2 separate regions of the Homo sapiens genome follow, and region 2 is linked to region 1. Evidence: promoter capture Hi-C in 16 types of primary human blood cells and fetal thymus (Javierre and others, 2016). All regions are on one chromosome and are shown on one strand. Each heading gives the region's core, a stretch centred on a gene start or on the middle of the fragment in contact. The rest is flanking DNA. Distances are from core to core; before and after follow the strand shown. Region 1 holds the start of RHBDL3 (rhomboid like 3). Region 2 overlaps RHBDL3 (rhomboid like 3).

The links. Contacts are between HindIII fragments. The CHiCAGO score rates a contact against its expected background, and 5 or more counts as called.
Region 2: a contact is called between a fragment that was not itself captured here and the fragment with the promoter of RHBDL3 in region 1, in 3 of 17 cell types (M1 macrophages, M0 macrophages and megakaryocytes). The highest score is 5.5, in M1 macrophages.

What each region holds. Positions count from the first base shown.
Region 1 is chr17:32,264,349-32,270,324 of GRCh38, reverse strand. RHBDL3 (rhomboid like 3) reads right to left here and starts at 4,493. Exons shown (of 9, transcript NM_138328.3): 1 at 4,025-4,493; 2 at 2,400-2,423. The coding sequence starts at 4,135. It overlaps LOC105371731 (a long non-coding RNA gene), which reads left to right and starts at 4,874. Exons shown (of 3, transcript XR_934665.2): 1 at 4,874-5,060; 2 at 5,429-5,579. The HindIII fragment of the contact is 5,065 bases long and covers 2,784-5,976 here.
Region 2 is chr17:32,295,133-32,300,973 of GRCh38, reverse strand. It overlaps RHBDL3 (rhomboid like 3), which reads right to left. Exons shown (of 9, transcript NM_138328.3): 6 at 2,770-2,882. Among named protein-coding and RNA genes, the nearest start is that of RHBDL3, 32 kb to the right of the region's middle. RefSeq lists an enhancer at 1,966-2,596. The HindIII fragment of the contact is 1,406 bases long and covers 1,036-2,441 here.

The DNA of each region.
Region 1 (5,976 bases), core at 3,244-5,743:
GTCTGCTTGACCCAAGAAGGGAGGGAGGAGATACTTGACTGGTTCTAGCCACCCATGCCATTGATCTCTGGAAGGCGAACTCCAGAGTCACTTGTGCTTACAGGGACTCTGAGAGGTGTCATGTCCCATCCATGACTGCAGTTTGATCTATCAGGGTTGCTTGCTTCTTTTTTTTTTTTTTTTTTTTTTTTTGAGAAAGGGTCTCACTTTTTGGGAGGCCATCCTCCTGTCTCAGCCTCCCAAAATGCTGGGATTACCGGCGTTAGCCACTGTGCCTGGCCTAATTTCTTTCCTAGAATTAATTCTGGGCAGGCCTCCCAGAAGCAGGGGTATGCTCTTTGTGACACCCAGGACCCAGGACCTACCTTCAGTTGGAAAAATTCGATTTAATAGACCACTAGCTACTATTAGGTGCTACACATTCTTTCTGCTCCCTTGAGTTCCAAAATCTTCCTACTAAAAGCTCTCTTCCTTTCACCCAAATGGTTTGTTTTAAAATGTACACATACACACAGGGACTGGCAAAGGAAATTAATCAAATGAAAAAGATAGACACAGACAGAGAAAAAAAAAGAATGATACACTTTGTTCTAGGTTCTGATTCTAAATCTGGCAGGAGGTGTGAAGGGCTGGCAGCTTGGTGGTAGTGGTGGCAGTGGCGCAGCGGGCTCCCTCCTGCCTTGGGGCATCAGGCCAGCAGCTGCTGTACTCTTAGGAGCCAGAGGGAGAGATGCTCTACCCGTCAGGACAGGAGCCAGTGCATGCTTTGAACTTCAAACCACAGCCAGACCTCGTGGTTAATGTGGATGATCACCCCAAATCCTCACCCCAGGCCTTTCGCGCTGCAATTCCGTGTCATCACGCCCACTCCGGCATCTGCAACCGGCTGGCTCCTCTAACTGAACTTGTCTCAAACCAAAGTTGTCATTTTTGCCAAACGTCTCTCCTCACTCCAACTTGTTTTTTGTTTTTGTTTTGAGACAGGGTCCCACTCTGTCACTCAGGTTGGAGTGCAGTAGCACGATCGTGGCTCACTGCAGCCTCAACTTCCTGGGCTCAGGCAATCCTCCTGCCTCAGTCTCTCATGTAGCTGGAACCACAGGAGTGTGCTACCATGCCTGGCTGATTTTTTAATTTTTTGTAGAGATGAGGTCTCACTTTGTTGGCGAGGCTGGTCTTGAACTACTGGGTTCAAGTGATCCTCCCGCCTTAGCCTCCCAAAGTGTTGGGATTACAAGCGTGAGTCACCACACCTGGCCCCACTCCAACTTCTTTCCCTCCTAGGTTCAGAATCTCAAAGTTAGATATGTGGTTCCCCTCACCTACGGTCTATTAAGATCTTCCAATTCTTCCATCACCATGTCCCTCTTCCCGTCCATCCTCACTGTCACCTTCTTGCCTCTGTTCAGTGCTGCAGCTCCTGCCTAGCTTCCCTCATCCCCGTAGCCCATTCACTCCTTATCCCCTAAGACACTGGAGCTTTCCCAAGCCTGGCTTGGATCACATAACAACCCTGCTAAAAAACTTTCTAAGGCTTCCCCTGCCTACAACGAAGTCCTGGTTCAAGCTAATTTTTCAGCTTTATCTCCTTCTCCTACCCAACACATTCCCTCTGGCCCACTCACACCAATTTCTTAAAGTTGCACAAACTTCATGGCACAATCATTCTCACCCCAGGACTATAGCACTCAACTATCCTCCAACATGGGGCAAAGAGGGAGAAGGAAGCACATAACAGCACCCACCACGAATGCTAAGAGGAGAACCATTTCCTTGCTGAAGGTCAAATGTCCATCTCCAGGTTCAAAAGCCAATACTTGGCACCCCCAACTCCATGCCCTACACCTGGACTCCAGGCATTGCGAAGAATCACACACAATTTCCCCTCTGTAACCTCCCAGCACTCCCTCATCCCTATGACAGAATTAAAGACATTGAATTAGACTTCAAAAGAGTCCATACTGTGAGTCAGCCCCCAAGGATGGCAGAGATTTGACTTCAGCGGTGGCCATGGACCCTCCATAGTGGAGGTAGAAACGGAGAGGGATTGTCAGCCCAAGCCCTTCCCCCACCTCTCCAGCCCCCTACTGCAATCCCCTGGCATATGGAGGATTTCCCAGGCATTCAATATATAACGTCCAATTTCTACATGGTGTAAACCCGGCTCTGGTGCAGCAGAGTAGGGAGGAGGCAGGAGGGAGATCCTCTCAGGGGAGCCCATCTCTTCCTCCTGATACCTGGAGAGCAGTGTCGTTCAGCCCTAGAGATGCACAAAGCCACACCCCCACCCCACGTCACCATCTCAGGAGCGCGGAGCTAGGGAAGCCCACGCAAGCAGGGAGACTGAGACCGATTTCAGGGAGGGCTGGAAGGAAATGGGGGGTTAACTGCTCACATACCTGATCAAACAGGACTTTCCAGTGCTGGCAGAGAGGGAGGCCATGCAGGAGAGGAAGAAGAGGAGAGAAAGAAAGACACACTTATCACCAAGGTCTCTGTAGTCCTCGGATGTTTCTGACATAGCCTCCCAGCGGCTGCCCAGGAGTCATGACCAGGCTCAGGGACTGGCCACAGGAGAGCAGGGGAAGTCTGGGAGGAGCTCCCCAATGAGTCCACACTGAGCAGAGGGAGGAAACTCACAGTAAGGGATGGGGTGGGGGCGGGGGCGGCAAGGTGGGTGTTGCTGGTTCTGGAACTGGCAGAACAAGTGATTCTCAACAATTACTAAATAAAGGCGTCCAAATATGTCCAAGCGCCTCTAATAATTTCTGCTGCCTAAAGCTTATGTCCACAGCTACTCCCAGGCCTGGGAGAGCATGGCCAGGTGCAATTCCATCAGACCCCGGCGCAATGAGTCTCACCTGCTGGGAGCTAGAGCCCCCCCCTCCCCCCCCAGGAGAACTCACCTCTGCATAAACACTAACATTTTGCCTGCAGTTTTTTGTTTGTTTGTTCGTTTTTTGTTTTTTTGCGGGGAAGGGGGGGTGGTGAATGCCGAATGCGGTGAAGCCCACCCATTCTCTTCCAAGGCTGAGTCTAAGTGGTGACTACATCAGATTCTGCCAGGGGTTTAGGGCCAGAAGGAAGTGATAGATTTAACCGCAGACGCCAAAGAGAGAAGATCGTAAACTACCCCCCAACCCCATTCAGACTTTCCCGCTTTCGTTGTGTGGGTTGGGGGCCTGGTTTCACTTCCATCTCCCCACCCTGAGGGAGGAGTGGGCAGGGCAGGGTGTCTGCCCGGTTTTTCACCCCTATGTGTAGGTTAGCCCCGGGAGGTTAACCCAAGAAACTCCAGTTCCCAGGGCTTCGCAGGGCCGGCCCGCAGGACCGGAGGGATGGAGACCCGAGCAGCAGACGGCGGGGAAGCCCTCGGGGCAGCCCCTCCCTCTCCTCGCCCAGGGGACCGTCCCCTGGCACCGCCACGGTCTTGGACTCCCGGGCCTCCTTCTAGGAGCAAAGCCGCTCCCAGCACTCTTTGCCTCCCTGCTCCGGCCGGGGTCAGAGGCGGGGGCCGGCTTGAATTTCAATCAGTGTCGCGGCAAGGCAGGTGCCGGGCGGGAGCTAATCCGGGAGCGGAGGAAGGGGTCGCCAGGCCGGCTTGCATGGCCAGGGACGGGGACTCTGCGGCGTCCGCTCCTTCCCCAGCTCCGGGAGCTCGCAGGTCGCGGGCGTGAGGGGAGGGGGAGTCACCGCCGTGACGCGGCCGCCTCTGCGGGAAAACGCCGTGTCCCGGGCACTGCACCAGCGGCGGGGAGGGGGCTCCGGCGGTGACAGGTCCGCGGCGCAGTGGCGGTGCTGTGTCCCGCAGGGAAGCCGCGGGAACCAGAGCGGGGGAAGCGGTGCGCGCGCGTTTCGGGGAGACCGGTCCCTCCGCCCCCTCCTGCCCGCGGGGACCCGGCCAATCCGGGGCGCTCCCGCGTCACCCTGAAACCTCCAAGTTGCCCGGCGTGGGGCGAGACAGGGGCGGCTTTTCCCCCCGGCGCCCCCTAGAAAGTTTGCCGGGCGGGGAGGGGGCACTCACGTCCTCCGGCGCCGCGGGCAGCCGCTCCTCGGCCTCGGGTTCCAGCTCCTCGATGCGCTCCGCCTCGGCGCAGGCGGCCACCGCGGGGCCCGGGCTGGGGTGCTCGCCCATGGCCGAGACGGGGTCCGGGGGCGGCGGCGGCTGCGGGGCTCGTCCCGGGGCGCCGGGCTAACTTTGCGCCGCGGCGGCCGCGCCGCTCCAGGGGCTCAGTGCGCGCCGCGCCGCCTCCGCGCCCGCTCCGCAGCCCGCGCCCGCCCCCATGGCCCCGGTCCCCGCGCCGCCGCCGCCTCCTCGCGACCCCGGGACGCCCGGCCCCTCCGCCGCCAAACTTCACTGCGCTAGCTGCCCCGCCGGCCTCCGCCTCCGCCCCGGCCCTCGCGCCCGGCTCCGAGGCGAGGGCGCCCTTGGGCCGGCCCCGGCCCCGCCGCTCCCCGCGCTCCCTTCCCGCTTCTCGCGGCCCCCGCTCTGCGCCCGAGTCTCCTCCTCCCCGCGGAGTCCTCGGGGGCGGCGCGCGGGCGGGGGCGGGGCTGCTCGCGGGGAACGCCGGCCCCCGCCCCGCACCCCACCCCGGGCGCCGCCACCCGGGCCCAGTCGGTCAGAGCGGCGCGGCCCGGGAGCGGGAGGGCTGCGGCGGGGCTGGCGAGGAAGTGGTGGCGCTGCCCGGGGCGGGGATGGGGACTGCGCCGTCCCCGGCCCGGTCACCACCGGCCTGCACTCCGGGCCCGGGCTTGGCTCTTCCATCGGCTTAACCATCACTTGGAGGTGGCAGATATGTGATGGAGACACTATGTTGGCGACGTCAGGGTTAACTAGGAGTGAATTGGGGGCGCGATGTTGTAAGGACGGGATTCCTGCCTCCCGCCCCATTATCCTTACGCCCTATTCACTGCGGTCTCAGATTCTGGGAGGTCTCGGGAGGCCCAGAAATGGGAGAAGTCAGATTGCGGGGTCGTGGGCCCCAAAGCCTAAATCTTGCCCTTCCTACACCCAGAGCTAAGTGACCATGCCCAGGCTTCATTTGACCACATGGACAAAGGTAAGCCCAGGGAAATGCCCCATCTGGGGAGAGGGACGGTAAAGAAACTAAAGCAATCAGAAAGGAAGTTAGCCAAAACGGAGTAGGGGATCTTTTAAAGAAAACAATCGATGCTGTTTCCCTGCAGGAAAGCGCCCCCAAGAGAGACCATCTCCCGAAGCAGAGGCTCTGGCTGTAAATGGTGCTAGTGGCCGGCCTGGCAGGGGCCAGCTCTCCCCAGAGGCTCAGGAGCTTCTCCAGGAGGCATCTCGCAGTCAGTCCCCAGCCCACACCAAGGCTGTGCCCTTCCACTCCTCTTGCTTTCCTCTTCCCACCACCCACTCACTCACTAGTCTTTGCCCTCTTCCTTCCTCTGGGAAACGGAACAGGCTCCTTTCCATTAGTGAGAGCTGCAACTAATGCAGTCATCTTCAGAAAGCAAAGACATAACCCCGTGCCCAGGATCCGAACTGCGACCATCACCCAGCAATGACTGCTCCCCTTAAACACCGAGAAGGGAATTCACTTGATTCTAATTAGGTGAGTTTGCTACAGACACCAATTTTCATCTCTGTTTCAGAAAGTGTGATCATTTCAACTATTTTTGTTTCTCACCACCCTCCTCCCCATCCCTACTCTACTAACAAGTCAAGATCCTGCCAAGATTTCCTTGTAAATAAAACTGTCTGCATGGGGTGTGATTTTGAAAACAGCCTTCAGGGGACAGAAGAGAGGCTGATTCCTTTGTGAAGAGGAGCCCAGAAGGACAAATGACCGCTGGGGCCCTGGGGTCTGTGTCGCTGCCTCCCGCATCCCAGGCTGTCATTTGCATGACCGGTATGGGTGTTGGCTCTGTTATACTTAGATCTCTGGGACTAGAGAAGTGGGCCAGGAAGTCTGGTTCCAGGGGAACTGGAAGGAGAAGGGCACAGAAAAG
Region 2 (5,841 bases), core at 489-2,988, 33 kb before region 1:
AAGAGGCGGAGGTTGCAGTGAGCCGAGATCATGCCACTGCACTCCAGCCTGGGTGACACAGTGAGACTCCGTCTCAAAATCAAAAAAAAAAAAGGAAAGAAGCACAGGGCTTGGGAAGGGCTCCTCCCTAGTTCTAGTACTTTTCAGGTAAGCAAATCTGCAAGTCATTTCACCTCCCTGGGCTGCCTGTAAAATGGGAGTGGTAGTACCCACCATATAGGACAGCAGTGATGAGCATAGCATCCACGATCATCCGCAAACCCCTCATCATATGCCTGGAGCATGTATATGCCCCATAGAGGTTAGCTATCCTCATTACAAAGTGTGGATTGGAAACACTTTCACTGGGAAGGAATTAGAGAGTAAGGCTGCCAGACATCTATTAAGGTCTCCTTTGGTTTTTTTCTTTTTTTCTTTTTTGAGACAGGTTCTTGCTCTGTCACCCAGGCTGGAGTGCAGTGGTGTTATCACAGCTCACTGCAGCCTTGCACTTCTGGGCTCAAGCGATCCTCCTGCATCAGCCTCCCAAGTAGCTGGTGGGACTACAGGCCTACACCACCATGCCCAGCTAATTTTTAAAAAACTTTTTGTAGAGACAGGGTCTCCCTATGTTGCTCAGCTTGGCCTGGAACTCTTGGGCTCAAGCGATCTTCCTGCCTTGACCTCCCAAAGTATTGGGATTACAGGTGTGAGCTACTGCACCTGGTCTGCCTTGGTTTCTGACAATAAATTAACTGCAAAAAGGACAAGGACCACCTTTTGGTTCTCGTCATACTATTATAGTGGTTGAGATCACAGCCTTGGGGGTCAGACCCTGCCCAGCTCCACCACTTTCTAGCTGTGTCTTCTTGGGCGAGCCACTTAGCCATCTAAGCCTTGGTTTCCATATCTGTGCTGGGGGAGAGCAGCAGTGCCCACCTCGTAGCGTTGCTGTGTGGATGAATTACGGCCTGCATATGGTAGGCACTGATAAGTGCCACCCGTCCAATCTAGGGCTGGCTGGCTGTAAACCGGCTCACCTCTCAGAGGAAAGCTTGGGAGGACAGGAAAGGGTAGACAGCAGAGACAGATCAATCAACTCAATCATGGAGATCAATGACATGTGTGGTGACCAGAGTGCCCTCTGGTCTTAATCACTGACTCAGACAGAACAGTGCACGCCATGTGCTCAATGATACAGCCCTACATGCTCACATTCAGGTGATGAGCTCTGCTTCTGTTTGAATCTTCCCACTCTGCACTGGTGTCACTGGGGAGGTGACACCTACTCTGTCTCCCCACTGCATGTCACCTGGTTTGGGTGAGGTCTGAGTCCATTTGAATCTTATTTTTGTCTTCTAGGTTATTGGCATTCCCATCTAATTGAATACTAACTGCAAATGTTATTAATGTCTTCCCTGTTCCTTGCTATTTAACATCTGGGTCTCTGGGTATTGAGGTATGGAAAATGAGGCTATCAATCCTCAGATGTCAGGATTAGGGGGTGTGTGGGTGGCTGAACAAGTCTGGCACTTAGAGATGCTCATTAGCCCTTTATTCAAGGACGTGGTGAGCCTTGGATTCTGGGAGGGGCTTGCAGGGGTGCTGACCAAGGTGGCCAACGATTTTAACCTCAGCGCATACAGGAGCAAAGGAGATGGTGCAGGGTGAATCTCCCAGGCCAAGGGTTCATGCACTAGCAGACCAGCCTCGTGTGGGTGGGGTGGGACCCTTCCTCTTTGATTTCTGAAACCACTTCAGTTACTCCCAGGGTCCCTGCCTGCCTGTTGTTTACAAGGCTGACGCTGCCCGGCTCTCCTGATGACAACTTTAATACCACTCAGAAAGGATTAAGATCTTACTTAAACATACACACAAAGCTCCCTTGGGCACAGCTGTCAAGCTGAAGAGCTGAGGCGGCAAACCTTGTTAAAAAAAAAAAAAAAAACAGCCGGCAATAAAGTTGGAGACATCACGAGGGAGATCCTCATGTTCAGAGGCCTGGCTGGCAGACGCTTCCTGCAGAAATCCGTGCTCTCCCCAGCTAACTTCACCCACCTCACCTCCCACTGGGGAGGGGGCAGAAGGTGGAAGGCTCACTGGGAGTCACTCTGGCCACTATCCATGAAGGATGATCACTGGCCACACGTGTGCCCACTCAGCTGGAGGCCCAGATGCCTTCAGATGGAGCCAGGGCTCACTGCCTCTTAGGTCAGACTCCCTGTCAGCAGTGGGTCAGGCAAGGGGACTGCGGTTGGTCTGGGTAGCAGCCAGCTCTCTTTTTGGGGACAGGTGCTACGTGGCCAGGGTGGTACCTGGCTCCACTCACCCCTTTGATTCCCCTGTGGGGATCTCACTGTGCCCTTGCAGTTTTCGGAGCACTGTTGTTCCATCTGTTGCCTCACTCACTCTGCCCTCCTGGCAACCCTACAGGCAGATCTCATTAGTTCCCTCTTAAAGCTTAACATGGCCAAAAGAGGTTAGGAAATTTCCCCAAGCTCAGAGAGCTACCACATGGTGGTGTGAGACCGAGAGTCGGTTGTCCAGCCTGTCCCAAATCCAGTGCTCTCCTCCCCCGTCCTGCCACACACCTCCCTCTATGGGCAGCAGTCCGTTCTCCAGCCTCATAGGGAGGTGGGTGTGCCTGGAGGACAGCCTGGTTAAGTCAGGAGCCTTGGAGATGAGGATCTTCTGTGTGTCCTGGAAACCTGGGGCTTGCCCCGCCCCACAGGGTCTCCCACCCCACCCTGGGGCAGTGTGCCTTTGTGGACACGGGGCCTACCTGCCTACCTGCCACAACACCGGCCACGTAGACAAGCCCAATTCGGGTGGCTCCATGCACCATCTCCAGGGGCACCCCCACCAGCAGCTGCAGCACCACATTGAGTCCCAGGTGTTCTATCCTGTGACAGAGAGACCACACTCACTCATTCATCTATTCATTCATTCATTCATTCATTCATTCAACAAACACCTGCATCCCCCAAGATGCCAGGGATCCAGCAATGAACAAGACCACCTCTGCCTGCGAGGAGCTCATGGTCTAGGGGAAGGAATGACAATTCAGACAGACCATCTTGGAAAGAGTGTTCCTTCCAGATGGGACAGGAACAGATGTGCAAGGCCTGGGCGTGACTGGCAGCATTTCACTTGGCACAGTGAGACAGACTAACCACAGTCAAGATCCAGCAACTAGGCTGGGCGCAGTGGCCCACACCTGTAAGCCCAACACTTTGAGAGGCCAGGGTGGGAGGACCACTTGAACCCAGGAGTTCAAGATCAGCCTAGGCAACATAGTGAGATACCATCTCTGAAAAAAAAAAAAAAAAAAAAAAAAAAAAAGATCCAGCAACTCCATCAGTTAACATGTGAAAAACCAAGGTTCAGAGATAGTGACCAGCCACAGTTAGTGGCCACGCTGACACAACAGTTCAGGTCTCCAATCTGCCTGACCTGCTCCATTCACTGGGCCATGTGGTCATTCTGGCTCTCTTTGTTTTTTGTTTGTTTGTTTTTGTTTTGTTTTGTTTTTTGAGATGGAGTGTTGCTCTGTCAACTAGGCTGGAATGCAGTGGCATGATCTCAGCTCACTGCAACCTCTGCCTCCTGGGTTCAAGCGATTCTCCTGTCTCAGCCTCCCAAGTAGTTGGGATTACAGGCCACCATGCCCGGCTAATTTTTGTATTTTTAGTAGAGATGGGGTTTCACCATGTTAGGCAGGCTGGTCTCGAACTCCTGACCTCAAGTGATCCACTCGCCTCGGCCTCCCAAAGTTTTGGGATTACAGGCATGAGCCACTGCGCCTGGCCATGTTCTGGCTCTATTTGTAAGAGCTATGGATGTTAGCCAGGCGTGGTGGCTCATGCCTGTAATCCTAGCACTGCAGGAGGCCCAGACAGGTGGATCACCTGAGGTCAGGAGTTCGAGACCAGCCTGGCCAGCGTGGTGAAACCCCGTCTTTACTAAAAATATGAAAATTAGGCATGGTGGCAGGTGCCTGTACTCCCAGCTACTAGAGAAGCTGAGGCTGGCAGGTGCCTGTAATCCCAGCTACTCGGGAAGCTGAGGCAGGAGAATAGCTTGAACCTGGGAGGTGGAGGTTGCAGTGAGCCGAGATCGCACCATTGCACTCCAGCCTGGGCAAAAGAGCGAGATTCCTTCTCAAAAAATAAAATAAAATAAAATAAAATAAAATAAAATAAAATAAAATAAAATAAAAAAGAGCTACGGGTGTTTAAAGAAAAATATGTTCTCAAAACAAGTGCAGGCATTAAATATACATCTTATAACTTAATAATTCAAAGCTTTCCCTTAAAGTCTCATAAGAGAGGTTTCTCTTTACTGGTATAAGAAGAGATCTAGGCCAGGTGCGGTGGCTCAAGCCTGTAATCCTGGCACTTTGGGAGGCTGAGGTGGGCGGATCACAACGTCAGGAGTTCAAGACCAACCTGGCCAATATGGTGAAACCCTATCTCTACTAAAAATACAAAAATAAGCTGGGAGTGGTGGCATGCACCTGTAGTCCCAGCTACTCAGGGGGCTGAGGAAGGAGAATCGCTTGAACCCAGGAGGTGGTGGCTGCAGTGAGCCAAGATCGCGCCACTGCACTCCAGCCTGGGTGACACAACGAGACTCCATCTCAAAAAAAAAAAAAAAAAAAAAAGAGACCTATTCTGCTCCAAAACCCTCAGGACTAGGATATGGGATCCCAGGTTTTCTGTTTTTTTTCTTTTTTCTTTTTTTTTTTTTTTTGAGATGGAGTCTCTTTCTGTCATCCAGGCAGTCTCTCTCACACCATCCATGCGGTGGTGTGATCTCGGCTCACTGCAAGCTCTGCCTCCTGGGTTCATGCCATTCTCCTGCCTCAGCCTCCCGAGTAGGTGGGACTACAGGCGCCTGCCACCAGGCCTGGCTAATTTTTTTGTATTTTTCAGTAGAGACGGGGTTTCACCATGTTAGCCAGGATGGTCTTGATCTCCTGACCTCGTGATCCGCCTGCCTTGGCCCCCCAAAGTGCTGGGATTACAGGCGTGAGCCACCGCGCCCGGCTGGACCCCAGGTTTTCTGACCCTGTGAACACCTTCCTCCCTATACTACCTGTGACTACATCTTGCTGCTAAAATTGTGGGGCATCTAGCTGTGTGCATGTGACCAGAAAAGACTGTAACATGACTATTACTAAATCAATCAGGTGCTTCCAACTTTATACAGCACTTTAACACCCACTGTCTCATTTAAATTGAGCTGACATCCCCTGGGAAGCTCCTGGGACAGGGCTCAGATGCCCTCAGCTCACTGCTTTTGGCTCCAGGAGGCAGAGGATGGAGCAAGGAGGCTTTGGCTATTCTCCTTCCTCACCCTGAGGCACCAAGAGAGGTCAGGGGGCAGTCCTGGAAAGAAGGCAGACAGTCCCAACCCACGTGCAGCCACTGGCTTGGGATGCCTGGGCAGGGAAGCCCCCGTGTCTGTTGTCACCCCTGGCTCATGAGTGGATGTGAGTGAAGCATGACAGCCATCCCGCTGCTCCTTAGCCCTGTAAGATCGAAGCCTGGGGCAAGCCAGACAAGGTAAGCAGCATGTACCAATGGTCCTCTTTGGCCTGAGCAGAGGCGTTCATTCAGGTCTCTTCACCCGAAAGCACCCTCCCCCGCAGGTGCAGCCAATTTGGGATTAGCTCTTGCACCTGCTTTAGAGGCTAAGGGGAAGGGAGGCTCATGGGACAACTCCCTCTTGGCCATTGTGGGTCTTTCTGCTGAGCAATGGGAATTATGGCGTCATTGGGGCCAGAGTGACCCCCTTCCCAGTTCCCACTCCAGGGCCAGGCACCCCCACGGTTTTCCCCAGGCTAACTGTGAGCTCCTT